6 separate regions of the Homo sapiens genome follow, and all the other regions are linked to region 1. The links are contacts of gene promoters, found by promoter capture Hi-C in blood cells and fetal thymus (Javierre and others, 2016). All regions are on one chromosome and are shown on one strand. Each heading gives the region's core, a stretch centred on a gene start or on the middle of the fragment in contact. The rest is flanking DNA. Distances are from core to core; before and after follow the strand shown. Region 1 holds the start of SPCS3 (signal peptidase complex subunit 3). Region 2 has its middle 8.0 kb from the start of HMGB2. Region 3 has its middle 9.5 kb from the start of HMGB2. Region 4 overlaps LINC02268 (long intergenic non-protein coding RNA 2268). Region 5 overlaps FBXO8 (F-box protein 8). Region 6 overlaps CEP44 (centrosomal protein 44).

Evidence for each region. The method cuts DNA at HindIII sites, captures the fragments that hold promoters and counts their contacts. A CHiCAGO score of 5 or more calls a contact.
Region 2: a contact is called between a fragment that was not itself captured here and the fragment with the promoter of SPCS3 in region 1, in 2 of 17 cell types (neutrophils and total CD8 T cells). The highest score is 8.1, in neutrophils.
Region 3: a contact is called between a fragment that was not itself captured here and the fragment with the promoter of SPCS3 in region 1, in 1 of 17 cell types (neutrophils). The highest score is 10.3, in neutrophils.
Region 4: a contact is called between a fragment that was not itself captured here and the fragment with the promoter of SPCS3 in region 1, in 1 of 17 cell types (non-activated CD4 T cells). The highest score is 5.6, in non-activated CD4 T cells.
Region 5: a fragment that was not itself captured here is called in contact with the fragment with the promoter of SPCS3 in region 1 in 2 of 17 cell types (total CD4 T cells and naive CD8 T cells); the score reaches 8.1 in total CD4 T cells.
Region 6: a contact is called between a fragment that was not itself captured here and the fragment with the promoter of SPCS3 in region 1, in 8 of 17 cell types (total CD8 T cells, non-activated CD4 T cells, naive B cells and 5 more). The highest score is 12.8, in total CD8 T cells.

The regions. Positions count from the first base shown.
Region 1 is chr4:176,318,228-176,321,503 of GRCh38, reverse strand. It overlaps SPCS3 (signal peptidase complex subunit 3), which reads right to left and starts at 1,538. Exons shown (of 5, transcript NM_021928.4): 1 at 1,285-1,538. The coding sequence starts at 1,427. SPCS3-AS1 (SPCS3 antisense RNA 1) reads left to right here and starts at 994. Exons shown (of 4, transcript NR_186171.1): 1 at 994-1,359. RefSeq lists silencers at 825-904, 935-1,004, 1,125-1,244 and an enhancer at 1,227-1,727. The HindIII fragment of the contact is 6,231 bases long and covers 1-2,599 here.
Region 2 is chr4:173,324,720-173,327,995 of GRCh38, reverse strand. No RefSeq gene overlaps it. Among named protein-coding and RNA genes, the nearest start is that of HMGB2, 8.0 kb to the left of the region's middle. The HindIII fragment of the contact is 5,987 bases long and covers 1-3,276 here.
Region 3 is chr4:173,342,228-173,345,503 of GRCh38, reverse strand. No RefSeq gene overlaps it. Among named protein-coding and RNA genes, the nearest start is that of HMGB2, 9.5 kb to the right of the region's middle. The HindIII fragment of the contact is 3,910 bases long and covers 1-3,276 here.
Region 4 is chr4:174,211,196-174,214,471 of GRCh38, reverse strand. All of the region lies in intron 1 of LINC02268 (long intergenic non-protein coding RNA 2268), which reads left to right. Among named protein-coding and RNA genes, the nearest start is that of LINC02268, 7.6 kb to the left of the region's middle. RefSeq lists an enhancer at 107-166. The HindIII fragment of the contact is 4,679 bases long and covers 1-3,276 here.
Region 5 is chr4:174,268,520-174,271,795 of GRCh38, reverse strand. The region is part of intron 1 of FBXO8 (F-box protein 8); the gene reads left to right. Among named protein-coding and RNA genes, the nearest start is that of FBXO8, 14 kb to the left of the region's middle. The HindIII fragment of the contact is 2,196 bases long and covers 514-2,709 here.
Region 6 is chr4:174,286,650-174,289,925 of GRCh38, reverse strand. The region is part of intron 1 of CEP44 (centrosomal protein 44); the gene reads right to left. Among named protein-coding and RNA genes, the nearest start is that of CEP44, 4.4 kb to the right of the region's middle. The HindIII fragment of the contact is 1,373 bases long and covers 1,088-2,460 here.

The sequences.
Region 1 (3,276 bases), core at 289-2,788:
GGAACGTATACCTACCCCATTAAGGGGATACTACTGTAACCAGCTGCTATTTACTGTTTACTACGGCTCAGACCCACTGACAATATTTTTCACATTTCAAATAATTCTCACAACCTAAAAATTAGGTATTACTTCCATCTTAAACAAAAAGAAATTAAGGCCCAGAATGGTAAGAAAACTTGCTCAAGACAACAACAGCTAACATCTGTTCAGTGTTTAATATGCACCAAGCTCTTCTAACCCTCACAGGGCTGACAATGGCAGTGCTGATGTCCACCCCAGGTCTATTCGAACAATATCTAACAAACATCAGTACAGTAATTTAAAAAAAAAAAAAAAAGGTGGGGGGAGAAGGCTCGCTATTTGATAACTGGCTTCTTGGCGATTCTGACAAAGAAATAAACTAAGGTTAAAGAACTTGTGTAAGACGGAAATAGAGTAGAAGGGTATGAGAACAAGAGATGGAAAAATACGACGATTAAAGACAAAAGTGCCAGAGAATAAAATCAAGGACAAAATAGGCAATAGCGAAATGGCACTGTCATTTCGAACTGCATTTTTTGGCGTTTTCGCAGACTTCTTCAAGTGGTTGGCAAAAGAAAAAGAAATAAAGAAACCCAACAAAACAAAAATCTCGCTGTATCAGAAGGCTAAGATGCTTAATTCTCTCAGTGCCCAACATCTCTGGCCAACTTCAAAGCAGCTCCAACTGTTTACTGCCTTCTGAAGGTGCAAAGGCAACAACTGTAAAGGGAATGTCAAACAGGGCAAACTCGGGTGATGAATGACACAAAGACAACCCCGTCCTGTGGCCTCCAGAGCCGCCAGGAAACCCCACGGAAGCCCGACCCAGAGCGCGGCGGCAGCGCCTGGAGGGCCTCGCATGCGGACCACGAGCGGCACCGGACGCGCGGGAGGCGCCAGCCCAGGCGGGCGGCGGCGCCGGCTCTGCTGTTGTGTTGCTCCCTCATTGGCCAGGCGTGGGTGGAGGGAAGTGAGGAACAGGAAGCAAGCGGAGGCACCGACCTGAGGAACGCTCAAAATTAAAATTTAAGAGCAAGCCCGGGAATTTACGGTGGAGGGGTGCAAGTTCCGAGGGGACGCCGGAAAAGCCTGCGACGTCCACCCCTGACGACCGCCCTCGGGGGCGAACTGCCGCTCAGGAGGGCGATCCGGACGCCCTGCCCGCGGCCCCGGCACGGCAGCCCCGGCGCGGCGGCCCGGCTTCGGCTTCCGCCCCAGCCCGGTCCCGGCGTCCTGCACCGCCGGCCCGGCCTCACTCACAGCATGATCCGCGAGACGTGCAGCCGCACCGGGACGCTCCTGTCTTTGAAGGCGGTGGTGATGAAGCAGCCGAAGGTGAGCGCCGCCATCACGCTCAGCGAGAAGGCGAACAGTGAGTTCGCCCGCGACAGCACCGTGTTCATCGCGATCGTCTCCCACGAGTCCGGACTCCACACGCACACCCAGGCTCCCGTTCCGGCGGCGGACCGGCTCCCTGCGATCCGCGCCGTCTGCGGTGCGCGCGTTCCGGGAGCGCGCGCCGCCGCAGCCCCGCCTCCTTTCCGGTCCTCCGACGCGAGCGCGCGCGCGCCCGCTTCCCGAAACACACCCACAGCGCGCACGGGGCGGCGCGGAAAGGGAGAGACTCAGCCGCGGGCCCGCCCCTCCGTCGCGGCCTAACGCCGCCACCAATCAGCGACGAGTGAGGGAGGGGCGGGGTTTGTTGTGGAAGACCCACCCCCTCCTCTTCTAAATTGCTTCTCCGACCTTTGGGTTCAGAGAATTGGGAACCGGTCGTTCGCTGTCCTTTTTCGGTTCTTTGGTCAGAGGTCTGGGACTGCGACTTCTTGATTACTTATGTACCATTTATTTTCACTTGAAACCGGCAGCAAGTTAAGGTGGTTTAGAATCTGTCCTGACGGGTGGCGTTTGGAAGCAGCACTTTACAAAACGCCTGGTCCTCTCCCTTCTTTGTCAAACCTGGTCAAAGTTAGGACTTGAGCTTTTTTTGGAGGATCTGAGGAGCAGTGGGGAGTGGGGAATTAGCCGCCCAAGTCCTTAAAGCTGTCACGTGCATCAGTATTTCCACCTCCAACGTCAGTCCAATTCCTATTAATGCTTTGCTTTGTATGGATAGCTAAAGATGTTTTAGAAGATAAGGGTTGAGGCTACCGATCCTAAGTATTTGCATTTTAACATGGTGATTTCTGATAAATAAAAGGATAACCTTTCTGGGTTCTTAGGAGCAAAGAAGATAATGGCTGCGGAATTGCTCTACAGCATAATGTATAAGAATTTCGTTGGGTCATTAATAAATAATGCAATTATTTTATCACATTTTCAATATCCTGAAGGGCATTAGGGTTCAAACCGAGCCAATCCTGACTCTGATTATACTATCTGCCAAAACCTTTGTTCCTTTCACAGCTAAGGGTTTTTATAAAAATGGATTCAGGGTCTGCTGAAATAAATTTTTTTTAAAAATTTCAGTCCATAAACCAAACAAAAATATCTGTCCTGGAATGTGATCAGGAACAAACCAGAAAACTGTGAACATCTGATCTTGATACTGGCTTATGTTGTCTCTTGTTAAGCTTTTGCTTCTTTGCATTATTCATGACCATTCAATTAATTTTTGTATAGCCATACAGGTAGGATTATTACCAAGTGCCTACCGTGTACCAGGAATAGTTCTAAGCCTTGAGAATACAGCACTAATAAGGCAGACTCCCTGCTCAAATAGAGCCAACTAATGAAAAATCGATAAAATAGAGACTAAAGAGAGATCCTTAGTTGCGTTTAAAATCTTAGTTTTTAACTTCCAGGCTGGCACAGTTTGTTAACAAAAAAAGAAAAAAAAGGATTTTTATTGAATGCCATCTATACTGCAAGTGATACAGAGATTGTACTGATCACTTTCTACACTCAAAAGTATATAATCAGGTAGAGTTAATAAAATAAAAACAAATCTGAAATGTAAAACAAAAAAATACCCTGGGAAGTTACATAGCAAAGGAGGAAGGAATTACAGCCCTGGTAATGTGGGACAACACAGTGTGCAAATTATTTAACACAAAGCCTAAACAAGACACATTATTATTATAGCATGTTTTAGGGAAATAATTCTTGTTGTTGAACTGCAAGTACAGGTATATCTAAGAGATACTCAGAAGGCTGGTCCTGATAAACAATGCATGTATAAAAGAGTAAGCAGAAATAAGCCTGGAAAGGTAAGTTATGGTAGAAAACCAGGTCAAGAAGTTGACTTTATAT
Region 2 (3,276 bases), core at 456-2,955, 3.0 Mb after region 1:
AAGACTCTGTCTCAAAAAAAAAAAAAAAAAAAAAAAAGCCATTTGTATTCTTTCCTGTGGTCTTTTCTCACTGGTCTTTTTATTAATAGTTTTTGGGAATACTATATATTAAGGAAAATGACCCTTTTGACTTTATGATGCTTTTTTCATGCAGAGATTTCTTTATGTAGGCAAATTTAGCAATTCTTTCACTAAAACTTTTCTAGTGAGGTCCTTCCCACTCAAAGATCATAAAAGACTATAAAAATAATTATCCTTTGGTTTCTTTTTTTAAATTTTTGATTACATCTTTGATCCTTCTGGAATTAATTTTGGTGCAAGGACTGAGGTAGGGGCTCACGTTTCCTTCCCGATGTCAGCCACTACTTTTGGTCTTTTAATCTATAAAAGCAGGGCACTGGGTTAGAATTTCCTAAATTCTCTTATATATCAAACAAAGCACTCACTGCAAACTTGATCAATAGAGGAAAGTATGCTTTTTTTGTATTTTACCTTTTACCAGTTTCACTTACTGTAAATCATAAGGTTGTCTTACATAGTAGAAAAATAGCATTATCTTAAACCTGGCTTTTTATTACTAAATATATCACTAAAAATGCTTTACAAAGCAGTAATGATTTTATTTCTTGGGGAATAAAATCAAGAAAGCTAAAGGAGCTGCTATGCCACTGTGTAAGATCTAGTCCTTTAAAAATGAAATTTCATACCTCACCATGTTTGGATTAGTTCTTCATGAGATTCCTGTTGGAGACTGACAGTTTTAGAGAAAGGCAGAGTATTTATTGACATTAGGAAATGCCAAGACCTATAGAGACTAGCCAGGGAAAAGGACTGGATGTGGTGAAGTGAAGAACATTTTGAAAGTAAGCTCTGTGAGGGCAGTAAAATTTTCACTTTTGTATACTGCTTTGTCTCTAATGCAAGAAACAGTGTTCTAAGCATGTTTGTAAATATACAAATACCCAGGTTAAAGGGGATAGCCACTGTTTAGCTCAGTCCTGTTGCTAGATGGAAATGTGAATATAGGATTCCCAGATCTCTCAAATTTTCAAGTGGAACTAGAACTCGTGAATTCTGAATTTTAAATACAGTATTGGCAATGAATTCCAATTTTGGGGTCAAAACATGTCTATAGGTAAGATTCTGCCCAAAGGTCACCAGTTTGCCACTTCTATAAATTAAATAGTAAATATAAGTGTAATAATTTTTACTTGAGTCAGGTCCAAGGTTAATAAAAGTTTATATATGCCTTACAGCTAACCATTGTTTTTATAGGTCAGAAACCCTTCTTGCCCTGATTGGAAACTCAACTTACCCTGCAGCAAAGGTAAATAAAAATGTTTCAATTGAACTTCATTGTGCTCCTGGGCCTTTATTCTTCAAGAGTTAACAGTGCAGACTTCTGGTGATCCTCATCCTAGGTGTTACCACATCTATAGAATAGTAACTCAGGAGTGCAATAGACTGTCGCATTAAAAGGAAAGAAAAATAACTTTTCAGCATTATGTAGCACTAAATTTTGGAACTGGAAATGGCCTTTATATCATCTAGTCTTTCATTAGAAAAGCAGGACAATCAACTTGGACATTGTCCTCGGGCAGATAAGAGATAGTAAAATACCATAATCCATTCATATTTGTGTAATTCTTTGATTCTCCAAATTTTTTCCAAAAAATATTAATGGCTTATACAAAGAAAAACAAGAACAAAATATACAAAGAAAAAAACAAGGTTATGAAAGAAATTAAAAGCAAGGTAGTGAATCACGGATTTGAATAGGGCTCTGTTTTTCTTACTGGTTTTGTAACATCAGACAACTCATGTAACATTTCGGTTTCCTCATCTGTAAAATTTGAATGTTTTTGAGGATTAAGTAAAGTAATACATTTAAGACACTTATCCTGGTGGCAAGAAATAGTAAATGCTCGATAAATATTAGCTAAAAGTATATATGCCGATATACATGGGTTAATACAGATACTACGATGGAGTATTAGATAAAGTTCTAGCTCACTGCAGCCTTCACCTTCCAGACTCAAGCGATTCTTCTGCCTCAGCCTCTCAAGCAGCTGGGACCACAGATGTGTGCCACCACACATGGCTATGTTGCCCAGGCAGGTCTTAAACTCCTGGACTCAAGCAGTCCTCTCCCCTTGGCCTCCCAAAGTGCTGCGATTACAGGTGTGAGCCACTGTTCCAGCCCTGAGGTTCTTGATAGTCTAGGTAGAGAGGAAAATTAAAGAAGTTATGTGGAAAACATACATTCTTTAGGAGAGTTTTTCCTGGCACCAAATAAATATTCATCCCACAGAGTTAGAGGGATATTGAGTACTGGACTTGATTATGTCCTTGACCCCAGTACTAAATTTGTGAACTTGGACAAGTTATTTAACCTATCATGTATAAATGTATTAACATACTGTATGTTTACTTTTAGTCACTTTTGAGATTGATAAAAAGTGCTGAATAAAGTGTTTTGGGAAGTGCCTTTTTCATTCAATCCTGTACACCTAAAACTTGTTTATAACAACTAGTTTATTCATATTCATCTCTGTAATATTCCATTGTGTGATTATATCACAATTCATCCTTTCTCCTGTCAATGGGCATTTAGGTTGCTTCCAGGGTTTTCGCTATTGCAAATGGCTGTGGTATAAAAATTCCTGTATAGCTCTCCTGACACTCAAGCGTACTTCCCCTCCAATAACCTGGATTGTAGATTCTAGCTGTTTCAGCAGCCGGAAACCTCCACTCCGCCTCCTCAGTTCAGCAATACCACCATTCTGAGCCGCATTCCTTGCACCATGGTTGGGAATGTCCTCCCATGGAGACAGACATGGTGAACCTGGGATTCACCTTGTGTATTTCCTTTCTTTTAGATATCAGTCTGCTTTGACTAGTATCCAATTCCTGAAAACAGTTGCTTCATATATTTTGTCCAGCATTAACTGTTGTTTGGGGTAGCAAGATAAGTCCACTTAAAATTATAGCCGGAAGTGGAAGTCTATTCATCCCTATTTTCTATTCAAATATTTAGTTTTGTTTCGGTTAGTTAATTCTTAATACAGCTGTGGTTTATTTGCTCAAACCAAAAGCCCAAGAGAAATTTCATTTAAAGGTAATTTGAAGGATACAATATCTTAGATATTCTTCAAGATGCACTTATCACATCACAGTTTCATAATGCTCAACACTTCTTAAAGTGCTTTCACATGGAATAATTTTCACGTACCTAAACTATTGGCCTATTAGGTATCTGGCTTTCTGGTGAGGTAC
Region 3 (3,276 bases), core at 348-2,847, 3.0 Mb after region 1:
TGGAATCAGGTAGACCAGTTCAGAGTCTATTGTGGCTTGAGCTTGTGTGATGATAGTAGAGATGGAGATAAGTGGATGGTTTCAAAATATATTCTGGTGAGAGAACAGGAGATGTGTTTTTTTGAGTAAGCAAAGTGGCTCTGCAGAAGATCACATACATAACTGGACAAGCGACTTTAACTTGTATCTGAAAGACTATCATCTCACTACAGCTTTCTTGGTGATAGAGCCCTCTTGAGCTTCTTTAGATATGTGTCAAAATGTCAAACTGAATATTGATGGAGCCAGCACAGGTAGAGAGCTGTAGGAAAAAACCGTGATCTTTCTTTAGTTAGAGGGGAATCCAAAATAGTTAAAATGTGAATGGCCAAATACTTACTGCTTATCTCAGTTTTCTGATGAGTTACTATAATGAAATAATCTAGTCCAGAAATAAATGACTTGTCTTGGGCTTGCTACGCAAAAGAAGAAAAAAATGCTATTAAAAAAGTTATTAGCCAATGGCTGCATATAATAGAATATCTATCTAACAGTATTATTATGAGTTTATTTTTCTGACATATAAGAAGACTGAGAGAAGATGGTTACTGGTAATGGTTCAGTAGTTCAATAATGTCCGGGTTGATGTCTACAATTTTCTTGCCTTTCTCTTATGCTACTGAGAATAGCTTTCTCATGATTGGTTTGAACCCGCAATAATTTATCATTACCTTTTTTATAATCAAGATATTTTTTAAAGTAAGAAGAAAGGAGAAAATGGGTTTTGGGTAATTAACAGAGTTCTGAACAACAACCTAGATTTAAGAATTTTAGACAAAGGTATAGAACAAGACCATGCTACTTTATAGTTTTCAAACATAAAGGTTTTTAGAAGTTAACAGTAATGAGTTATTGATATGAATTATAAGTTTAAAAACACCTATTAACCTAGAAAATATTTAATGAATATTTAATAATCATTACATTGAAAAATTCATCCAATAAATATTTGAGCCTATGCATATGCATAGCACTGTACTAGGCCTTAGGAGAGATGTAAAAACATGATATGCACCTCCTGCCTTCAAGAAACTCCTAAACAATAATTTTTGGTATTACATTTTATATTTTATAACACTCTCTCATAGGCGTTCTTTCTTTTGAAATTTATAACTCCATGCATTAGGCAGATAAAATTTTTACCTGATGAAGAAGTTGAGACAGACCCTGCTCTTGTCTCTCTGGCCATTACCACTTCAACATTGATTTCTTGACCTGAGGGCTTTCTCCAAAGCTGTGGAAGGCAGCTCTGTCCCTATGTGATCAGGGCAATTTGGAAATGCCTGGGAATTAACAAACTCCCACTCTAGCAGCCTTCACCAAGTGACTGGAAAGATTTGTTATATAGATACCCCAGCTCACTTGGCCTTCAGATGGGATAACTTTGAGGCCTGTGTTTTCCCAGAGTTTTCTCATGGGATTATGCTCCAGTCATTATAAGTGGTATCTGGCTTGATACCGCACCCTTTATTGACTGTTTTCCCTTCTTTGTCTCGCTTCCCCACCTCCTACTGGTGTTTCCTGCATCTCTTAGATAAACTATTTGCAACAAAATCCTTGTCTCAGGTTTCTATTGAGCATTTCCACTAGGTTATTTCCCCTAATACCTGCCCTGAAAGTGCCTGGCTTAATGAGGGGGGCACACGATTCAAATCAAGCCAGTTGGAATCCTTCACAGGGAAATTTTGTCCAGTCTGAAATACTGAGAAAGGAACTCTCTTCCTTCATCCTTGTTTCATTTTGGTTTTGCATCATTCTATTTCGAGTAGTGTCCGGCACAACGTAGAAACTTAATCTTTCTGGAATATTTAATGAATCCAATTCCTACAATTTCTTTCCTGCCAACTTGCATTCATCATCAGCCATTAATTTTAAAATGTATGAAATAATGTTGCTATAGCATATCATAGTGTCACTGCATACTGTAGTAGTTAAGTGCATGGACTCAGGAGCTAGACTGCTTGAGATATAAACTCTGCCACTTGCCAGTTGTTTGACTGTGCTGGTTATATTTCTGTTGTCTGTCAGTTCCATTCTCATTCTTTTACTCTCTCTATATTACAGAGTACTGGAATTCTAAATATCATTTCCCAGATTCACTTGCCAATTTCTTTCCGGTTCAGTTCTGTTAATGGGAGATTCAAGGCCAAGAGGATGGAAGGCATTTTTGCTTTTCTTCTGGCTCCGGCCTCTGCAATGCTGTGCTCTACTACCCTGACTCCAGGAGTGGCCCGAATAGGGTGAAGGATGCATAATCCTCAATTATGCGTAAGTGCATTTTTTCAGTCTAATTAGAATTCCAGGCTTTAAAATTAGATGTATATTTTGAAAAGTATATCTGAAAATTTCATAGTTTGTGAATATATTTTTAAATACAGTCAAAATACTAAGCACAGTAACAACACGATTTAGAGGACAAAGTTGTAAATATGCCACCTTTATATTTATAAGAGTATTTACACAAGAATTTGCAGTTTTAAGTCGTTATCAATCATTGAGTTGATATAAGGTCAATATAGTATTAATATATCACCTACACAAAAGCAGATAAAAAGTTATTTTCAGCAGGGCATGATGGCTCACACTCGTAATCCTAGCACTTTGGGAGGCCAAGGCAGGTGAATCACTTGAGGTCAGCCTGGCCAACATGGTGAAACCCCACTTTACCAAAAATACAAAAATCAGCCGGGCATTGTGGCGCATGCCTGTAATCCCAGCTGCTTGGGAGGCTGAGGAAGGAGAATCACTTGAACCTGGGAGGCGGAGGCTGCAGTGAGCTGAGATTGTGCCACTGCACTCCAGCCTGGGCAACAAAGTGAGAGTCAGTCTCAAAAATTTACAAAAGGATGATTTCCTAATATGAAAGTGACAGATATTCATCTGAATATGGGCCAAATGAACATTTCTATTACAATTCAAGAACTACAGGCTGGGCGCGGTGGCTCACACCTGTAATCCCAGCACTTTGGGAGACTGAGGCAAGTGGATCATGAGGTCAAGAGATCGAGACCATCCTGGCCAACATGGTGAAACCCCGTCTGTACTAAAAATACAAAAATTAGCAGGGCGCAGTGGCACGTGCCTGAAGTCCCAGCTACTTGGGAGGCTGAGGCAGGAGAATTGCTTGAACCTGGGAGACAGAGGTTACAGTGAGCCAAGATTGCGCCACTGCACATCCTGGGTGACAGAATGAGACTCTGTCTCAAAGAAAAAAAAAAAAAGAACTGCAGAGACTCT
Region 4 (3,276 bases), core at 230-2,729, 2.1 Mb after region 1:
TTCCAGTTCCTCTCCTCCGCGACCCCCCACCCTCAGCTAGGGCTCGGCGCCCACCTGCTCCTCTGCCCACGGTCGAAGGAGTGAATTTCAAAAGTGCTTTTCTTGGCTTCTAAAAATGTGAGAGGGCGATCCGCGAGCTTGGGCGCGCTGCCTGCGAGACTGGCGCGCCCACAGGAACCGGCACTCAGGTGACGGGCTGAAACTGGTGCCTGCAGCGACTGCTATTTTGGCCCAACCAGCCTCTTCAGGCTTCGGCGGTACACGCCCCGGGGGTAGTTACAGTCCTCCTGGCTCTGATGAGTCTCTGCCCGCGGAAGATCAAAAAGGCTGAGGTTGGCAAGGGCGTTCCTCCCGCACCCGACGGCTGAGAAGGAAGATGGGCAGGATAGGTAGTGGGGAGGGCACAATCTAGTTAACACTCGGAATCCTGTCTGAAATAAAGGAAAATGCATGTTCAGACTCCCAAGAGACCCGGAAAACGCGGAGGATCTGCCAAAAGCATTCCAAGAAGAGAAGAAACCAACGCCAGGGAGAGATTCTTTTATACACATTATGGCAGCTGCACATGGCTTCCGTCAGTAACTGGGGCCAGGGGGTGTGAGGACGGTGACCGGGAGCCAAGGAGAGGGCCACGGGAACCGAACACCGGAGTCCCTATGGTGTTGCGCTGTGGGAGTCCAATGTCTAGTCCTGGAGCCTCCGAGAGCGCGCTGGTGGTCCTTTGGGACCTTCCCTTTCGGTAAGGACCCAGAGGAGGGAAGTCGAATAGGAATGGAAACCCGAAAATCGCAGATAGGTTCGCTTACTAGAGCTGTTTCTAAAACCCACTTAACAGCCAGCTGAGCTTTCAGTGGAGAGACTTCCTTTACTTACACAGTAGTTTGAAAGTTCTGCAGTTTTGTGTTTATAGATTTAATTTTAGAAAGCTAATGTGTATGCCACCTTCCAACTGAGCCCCCTGTTCCAGGATATCTTCTTTCCAAGATCCCAGAGAAGGACCCTCAGAAGCACTCTCTGCGGCAACGCCCCCATCTTATTTACCTGTGATTTTACTTCCCTTTATTATAAAGAGTAGGCGAAGATGTCGTTGGGTCAGTACTTATTTTACCAGGTGGCCAATTCTTCCCAAAACTCTGGCAAAGAGCACTTTAACCCCTGTCTTTTCCTTCTTTCACTAATCTTGGCTGGGAAATTCCATTTTTCACCGGGGTGGGTGGGTGGGGTGCAGTGGGGATGGTAGTGTTGCTTCTAATGTTCTGTCATTCAATTCACAAATATTTACTTGATGCCTACTGTTTTAGACACTGGGGACACAGTTTAAAGACACACATGCACACAACAGTTTAAAGACACACATGTGCGCATACACACACACACACACACACACACACAGACCCTTTCCTAGAGCTTCCACTCTAGAAGGAGTCTCAGGTTAACATTAGGACTCACTTTGGGCTGGGAGCTGAGAGGATGTGATTTTTAACAGAAACGTAAGGAACAACGCCAATCATCTGGTCAAAACTTTTCTCTGTGTCACCTAAGAAGTATCTTCATTATGTGTAGTTTAAGTCATAGCCTTTCCACAATGTAATTGATGTGCTTAATAGCAGATAGCACTCTCCACACCTTTGTGCTCACAGAGGCTATTTTCATTGCTGGGGTGGGGGGTAAGATGAAGGGTACTCCAGGCCATTCTCAACTGGTGTTGGTCATTGTTCAACTTATGAAGTCAACAATTTCAGATTTTTAGTGTCCTGAAAATAATCTTGGCCCCCACATCTTCAGTAACACAATGCCGACTTCAAGACAAAAAGCAGGTTCTGTCCCTCACTGAGAGAGGGATTTTTCTCACTCCATCAGCACTGAGCTTGGATCTTTTACTTACCTGAGGTCTCATTCTCCTCCTCCTCTCTAGGGGAGTAGGAGTTGCCTGGGAAAGAATTAGCAGCTCCTGAAAGGCAGGTTTCTCCATGCATTGACTGATTTTGCTGGAAAGTTTTTCCATTTCTCTTTCTCCACTGAAAGTCTCCTCCTCAGTGAGAAGGGAAGCTGCCCATTGAACACTGGGGCAAGGAAGCTCTCTGGGCCTTCTTAACTACACGGGCCACTCTTGCTGAGCACAAAGATACAGATTTAACTACCCCTTAACAAAGAAGAGAATTAAAAATGACCCACCAAAGAAAACTAGAATAAAAACAAAGGCAAAGCGGCCACCGCGAGCTGTTTGATTATTTTCTCTGACTTTGCTCTTTGATTGGAACCTGCCTCATCAGAAATAAAAATAAATAAGAACACAAAACGTTGATTGGTTCTTCATCAGTGAATGTGTCCATGGCTGATACAGAGAGAAAAGAAAATAAATCCTGATTGCTTAATGAAAAGAAGAAAAAAGTAATTTGTATAAATAGAGCTTTAGAAAAAGGAACTGAAGAACCGCGCAGGAAAAGGCTGCCTGGACCAGCGGGACATTCGCTGACGCGAGGGAGCTGGGGATTCTGGAGTGAGTCTTTGCGGAACCCGCGGCAGCCCTTAGAGAAACTGAGCCACAGATCAAACAGCAGGGAGCTGGCCTTAATTTTATTTGATCATCAAAGGATCGGATAACTCAGCAAGGCGTCGATGTCTGCATTTTAGGAAGCACTGAAAACTTTAGAAAGGTGTTTGCACTTCGGAGTGGCTTCTTCTGCACGTGATGCACAAAAGAAAAGCCTCTTACCCGCAGGAAAGTACGGCTGTTCCTGTGTCTTGACCGTGCCAGATCCGGTAGACACCGTGTGAGCGCTATTGACTGTCCAGCGACTTGCGGAGCTGAGAGCGTAGTGGTGGTCACTTCCCTGAGAGGTGGTGCCTACTGAGCTGGGGACCCAGAACGCTACTCTTCAGCCTCAAGTAGCATCCTGGAGGTCTCTCTGACAAGGCTGAGAGTGTTCAGGGATCATAGCCTGCAGAAAAGGGAGAAAATGCGTATGAAAGCACTTTGTCAACTGTAGAGGATTAGATGGCAAGATTACCATGCGCTTCTGAAAATTTCATATATAAATGCAGGGACAATTGGTAAGAAAACAGTAGGTAGAGTTCTGGTTTCGTTTCATTGTCTCTGTCCCATGTCCTTTAGTTCCCACTGTCATCCGAAGCTGACGTTTACTGAAACTTTACTTGTAAAATCCAGTGTTTCTGCTTCCTTTTTCTTTTGTAAAGTTAAGCTGCTCATAAACTTGGCTTCAGAATTAACCAGGAATCACTCTCCATTCAGAAGCACAAAATTACCATTTGTAC
Region 5 (3,276 bases), core at 362-2,861, 2.0 Mb after region 1:
CTATGCAAGTGTTTCAGCCACATTTTAATGCTTGAACATTGGATCTTTGAGGCAATAAGAAGTGACTTACAGATTTGTGCACCATATTCCTTCCATTGAGGTGATTGGTTTGACAGCCATTATGCTGGGCCAATTGTAAATATAAGGAGGGTGGTGGCAGGGAGTTTTTCTCTAATGTCATTCAATTTCTTTAGCAAAAATGCTTCTTCATTTTGCCTGAGTGAGGGAAAGGGGTTGGGGTACATACCTAAGCATTCTAGATATGTGATGTATGTGTGTTGAGGGGAGAGGTTGTGGTCCATTGTTACATATACATATGCACATTATTTCATTTAATTCTCATAAAAATCATACAAGGGGGACATTTTTATTCTTATTGTGTAGGGAAGGAAACAGTGACCCAGAGATGTTAATATCCTCATTGTTTTGCTCATTTGACTCTGAATTTCTCTCTTCCTTGTCCTATGTTTTGGACTCCCAAGCCTCTTGAGGTTTCTGCAAGGTACATAAGCTTCTGCTTCCCTCTCCATACGATTGCAGACTATCCTCTGTCTTTCTCTACATGGCTTCATTAGTAGCCACTCCTCCTTCTACTTTTCATGTTGCAGAAATATGTTGAAATCTCATGTTCATGAATGTCCTGTTTTCATTTTCTTTTAGTTGTAGTTTCTACCTTTTTTTTCTCTGTCATTTTATGGGAGAGAGAGGTGATAAATATATGTGCTCCATCTTACAAGAATACAACCAAGGTTGAGATTTTTTTCCAAAAAAGTTCCATAAAAGATTGTTTCAAAAGTGAGTCCAAAAATTGTTTCTTCTGTTTCCTGTCCAATTGATATCTTACAAATTGCAAATCATGGTCATGAGATGATACCCTGCCATTTATACTTATCCCAATATTAGTTTAAAACCTATTCCTGAGAAGCCGAGGCGGGCGGATCACCTGAGGTGAGGAGTTCGTAGACCATCCTGGCCAACATGGTGAAACTCCGTCTCTACTAAAAATACAAAAATTAGCCAGGCGTGGTGGCAGGTGCCTGTAATCCCAGCACTCGGGAGGCTGAGACAGGAGAATCACTTGAACCTGGGAGGTGGAGGTTGCAGTGAGCCGAGATCGCGCCATTGCACTGCAGCTGGGGAACAAGACAAGACTAAATCTCAAAAAAAAAAAAAAATACTATTCCTAAGACATGAGCATGAATAAAAATGATCTTGAAGTTTAGCATATTAAATTTAAGCTATGTAATACCAAAAGAGCTTTTGTAGAAAGAAAAACACCATATATGTTTAGTAATCCTAGATATAACTTTACTGAAATGTTAGCAGGTGGGAGGACAACAGATCATATAGGGGTGATAGTGGCTGTTTGCTCTATAAAAGGACCTTTAGCTAAGTAGGAAACTTTATGCAGTCTTCTAGATAAATACCTCTCAAAGGCATTATTTTTTAATAATGCTGGACTCTTCCTAAAATCATGTTACTTTCCATTTACGTCTTCCCAGCTACTGTGCCACAGCAGCATAGGACTTTAGGAACAGAAAGTTAAGTTTGAAATGTAAGCTATGATAATAAACCAAAATATGAAATTCTTATACATGAGATTAATTTAATAAAATAGCTCTGTCTCGGCTAATGTGGCATGTTTATACACAATACCACTGAGTGTTCAAGGTCGCACAGTTTGGTTGCCAGTCCACATTCAGTAGCCATTCAGTAGCCATTCATGTCAGGCTTCTAAGTTTCCTGTTTACTACCATGCTCCCTGAGTGTATTTGCAGGTAGTACAGAATTGAACATGAATATTTTATCCTTAAACCAAAACAGTATATAATAGCTCTGAGACACAAGGAGCATTAGTTGACTGCTGTATTAAAATGGTTATAATTAATTGATAGTTATATTTGCATAATTTCAGGGAGTAGAAATTCTGGGATCATATTCGTTTGCCTATTTGGCTGTTGCTTCATTTGATGCTTCATCCAATTTATAAAGGAGTTCTGATTTATTCTATTTTGTGCTAATCATTCTCTGGAAATTATCAATTTAAGTTTACTAAATAGTATCTAAATCTTCAGTTGTAAGTATTCATTTTATTACCATTCTTTTTTTTTTTTTTTGAGACGAGTCTCACTCTGTTGCCCAGGCTGGAGTGCCACATTCTCGGCTCGGTGCAACCTCTGCCTCCCGGGTTCAAGTGATTCTCCTGCCTCAGCCTTCCCAGTAGCTGGGATTACGGGCGTGCACCACAATGCCAGGCTAATTTGTGTATTTTTAGTGGAGACGAGGTTCGCCATGTTGGACAGGCCAGTCTGGAACTCCTGACCTCAAGTGATCTGCCCGCCTCGGCCTCCCAAAGTGCTGAGATTACAGGCATGAGCCACCACTCCTGGCCGCATTTTATTACCATTCTGAAAAATAAGGAGAAAATGTACAGTTGCGATTGCTTTGGGGTTTTTTCCCCCATTTTTTTTTTTGTTTTTATTTCCTTGGAAAGGAAGAGTTTCAACTTTGAAATCTTATGGAGAATTTTTTTGTAGCATAATTTCTCTCTGTGACCTAAGTAATTATGAAATTTTTGTTTACTTCTGTCAGATGATAAATAATGAAGTTATGTTTCTGTGTTTGTAGACCAAGAAAAAACATGTTTGGTTTCATTTCGAAGCTCCTTAGAAAGAATTCTATAGATCCTCTCAACATGATAAAGAAGCTTTGAACAAAATAAATTCAAATTTGGAAGAAAAGGCATGGGACACCTTGAATTGTATTAATTACAGTTGATCTTCATTATTTATAATTTTGTATTTGTGAATTTACCTACTCACTAACATTTATTTGTATCTCCCAAAGGAGTACGCCTGGTGCTTCTGCCGCCTTTAGCAAACATGCGCAAGAGCTGAAAAAACTGTTGTTCAAGGTGCACATTCGCAGCTGAAGTTGAAGGCAAGGCTCTGCCTTCTTATCTTAGCTGTCATTATAAACAAGTGTCCTTTTTGTGGCTTATTTAATGCCACATTTCCCACATGCTTTTTCTTGGTGATTTTAGTGTTTAAAACGGCCCCCGGCCGGGCGCGGTGGCTCACGCCTGTAATCCCAGCACTTTGGGAGGCCAAGGCGGGCGGATCACGAGGTCAGGAGATGGAGACCATCCTGGCTAACACGGTGAAACCCCGTCTCTACTAAAAAATACAAAAAATTAGCCGGGCGTGGTAGCAGGCGCCTGTAGTCCCAGCACTCTGGAGGCTGAGTCAGGAGAATGGCGAGAAACTGGGAGGGAGG
Region 6 (3,276 bases), core at 525-3,024, 2.0 Mb after region 1:
CGGAGGTTGCAGTAAGCCAAGATCATCACGCCACTGCACTCCAGCCTGGTGACAGAGCAAGACTCTGTCTCAAAGAAAAAAAAAAAAAGGTCTCAATAAAACAACCTAACTTTACACCTCAAGGAACTAGAAAAAGAACAAACTAAATCCAAAATTAGCAGAAGGAAGAAAATAATAAAGATTAGATTAGAAATAAATGAAATAGAAAATTGAAAAACAATTTTAAAAATTGACAAAACTAAAAGTTCCTCTTTTGAAAAGACAAACTAAATCAACAAATCCTTGGCTAGACTTTAAAAATAGAAGACTCAAACAAAATCAGAAATGAAAGAGGACACAATTGATCCCACAGATATAAAAAGTATCATAAGGGACTATTATGAACAATTATATGCCATCAAATTGGACAATCTAAAAAAAAATGGGTAAATTCCTAGAAAAATATAACTTACCAAGACTGAATCAAGAAGAAATAGAATGCTTGAATAGACAAATAACAAAAAAGGAGATTGATGGAATAATCAAAAAATTCCCAACAAAGAAAAGCCAAGAGCCAGATACATTCTAGCAAACATTTAAAGAAAAATTAATACAAAACCTTATTAAACATATCTAAAAAAAAAAAAAAAAGAAGAGGGAACACTTCCAAAGTCATTCTGAGGCCTGCATCACCCTGATACCAAAGCCAGACAAATACACTACAAGAAAACTACAGTCTAATACATTTGATGAATATAGACGTAAAAATCCTCAATGAAATGTTAGCAAACCAAACACAACAGCACATTAAAAGAATCATATACCATGACCAAGTAGGATTTTTCATTGTGATGCAAGGATGGTTCAACATATGACAACCAACCAATGTAATATACTGCATTAATAGAATGAAGGATAAAACTCACATGGGCATCTGCACAGATGCAGAAAAAGCACTTGACAAAATTCGATACTCTTTTGTGATAAAAACTCCCAATAAACTAGGTATGGAAGAACCTTATAGCAAATTAGGTAAAGGAAAAACAAAATAAAGTCCATTTATGAGAAGCCCACAGCTAAGATACTTAAAGATAAAAAACTGAAAGCTTTCCCCATAAGATGAGGAACAAGGCAAGGTTGCCTACTTTAGCCTCTCCTATTCAGCGTAGTATTTTAAGTCCTAGCCAGAATAACTAGGTAAGAAAAATAAATTAAAAACATCCAAATAAAAAGAGAAGAGGTACAATATCTGTTTGCAGATGACATGATCTTAGATGTAGAAAACCTTAGGGACCCCAACAAAAATGTGAGAATAAACAAATTTGCCTTTAAAAAAGAAGGAAATCCTGCCATTTGCAACAACATGGATGAACCTGAAGGACATTATGCTAAGTGAAATAAGCTAAACACAAAAAGACAAATACTGTATTATCTCAATGTATGTGAAATCTAAAATAGTCAAATACATGCAAGCAGAGAATAGAATGGTGGTTGTAAGGGAACATGGGGAGAACAAAATGGGAAGCTGTTGTTCAAAGGGTACAAAGTTTCAGTTAGGCAAAATAAATAAGATCTGCAGGTACAACCCAGTGTCTGTGATTAGCAATATTGTATTCTTAAAATTTTGCTAAGAAGTTAGATCTAATGTTAAGTGCTCTTATCACAAAACGTGAAAAAAAGATGAGTAGAAGGAAACTTTTCAAGGTGATGGCATTGATTTCTTGTAGTAATAATGGTTGGATGGTTTCACAATATCTACTTATCTCCAAACAGAAACTGTATACATTAAATGTCTATAGCTTTCTGTATGTCAATCATACCGCAATAAACAGGTTAAAAAATGAAGCAGCACCAGATCCCTGTACACACACCTCTAAAAATAGTCCCTTTGTATATAAAGCACCCCAAATTTTCTCCTTCTGAGTGTGTTATCTACTTAATTAAGGGCCTGGACTACAAAATCCAAGTTTTCACTTTTCACCCAAAGTTTTCCATTCTCACACACAGAATTTTCTCGTTCAGTTAGCAGATGCAAGAAGAGAATTTCAGATATTAGCTTTAAATACTACATTCTTGTCTATACCTGGTATTACTAGCTCTACCTAATTCATTTTCTTTCTTACCATGAAATTATAGAAACAAAAAGGTTACTGCAAAACACTTATAAACATATTGTCAGCATGAAATAATTATAATTATCCTATAATAAATTGTACCTTTTGAACAATTTTGGTCACTTTTTGATCTTCGTGTATTAATAAGTTAATACATGTAAATCATAACCAGAAGGGAAAATCAAAACATTCCACTTACCAAGTAATGATGAAAAAGAGAATGTGTGTGATTTAGTTAATTTAAAATATTATAGAAAGCAACAAATAACAGAAATGGTATCTGGGATAAAGTTCCTGGACCTGGATAAGGATGTTTGGTGATATCTCAAGCTGTTCAACACCTTTGCACATGCCATTTCTTCAAGCTTGAAGAGATACAGAGCAACTCCTTCCCTCTCCCATTCTCCATCTGGCTAATACCCCTCGGCATCCTGCTTAAATGTCACCACCTCAAATAAGTCTTAGATCCCAAACTAATTAATCCCCCTCATTAATTTTCTCTAATAGACCCAGTTCTTTTCCTTCTTGGTACTTATCATAATAAAGAACCAAAATCTGTGCCAAGGGTCCAAAATAGCACTCTACCTGAAAAGCAACACTTAATCCTTGTCATTTCTCAGCTCTATTTCAGAATGAGCTGGGTTACTACCTGGGGTCCCATAACGACCTATATCCCAATGGCCTAGAAATAGAAGGAATACACCGATTCCCCCTCTTGATGCTGATTCTTCACTTTAATAAGCCACCACCATTGTCAGTCAAGATGTTTTGCACTGTCATCGGTCCCAAACTCCTGCTGGTTAGCCAGCTGTCTACTTCCAAGAAGAAAAGGTGAACACAGAAAAAAAGGCAAGAAATTCAAAATATCTATGCTTTTTACAGAAAGAGTAAATGGTACAATTATTTTGGAAAACTTACTGGTGATACCTACTAAAAGCTGACATACATGGGGCCTATGAAACAGGAATATGACTCTGAAGAATGTACACAACAGAAAAACACATACGTGAACCAAAAGATTTGAACGAACTGAGACTTTAAACAAAATGATTCATTTTTTAAAAACTGCCCCAAAAGTAATAGCATGGAATTTATTTCTAAATGACTAATTTTCTTGCATGGAGTGGGACTTTCATTAGATTATCAAAGGAGATTTTTCCCAAAGAAGAGTCATAAATAGGTA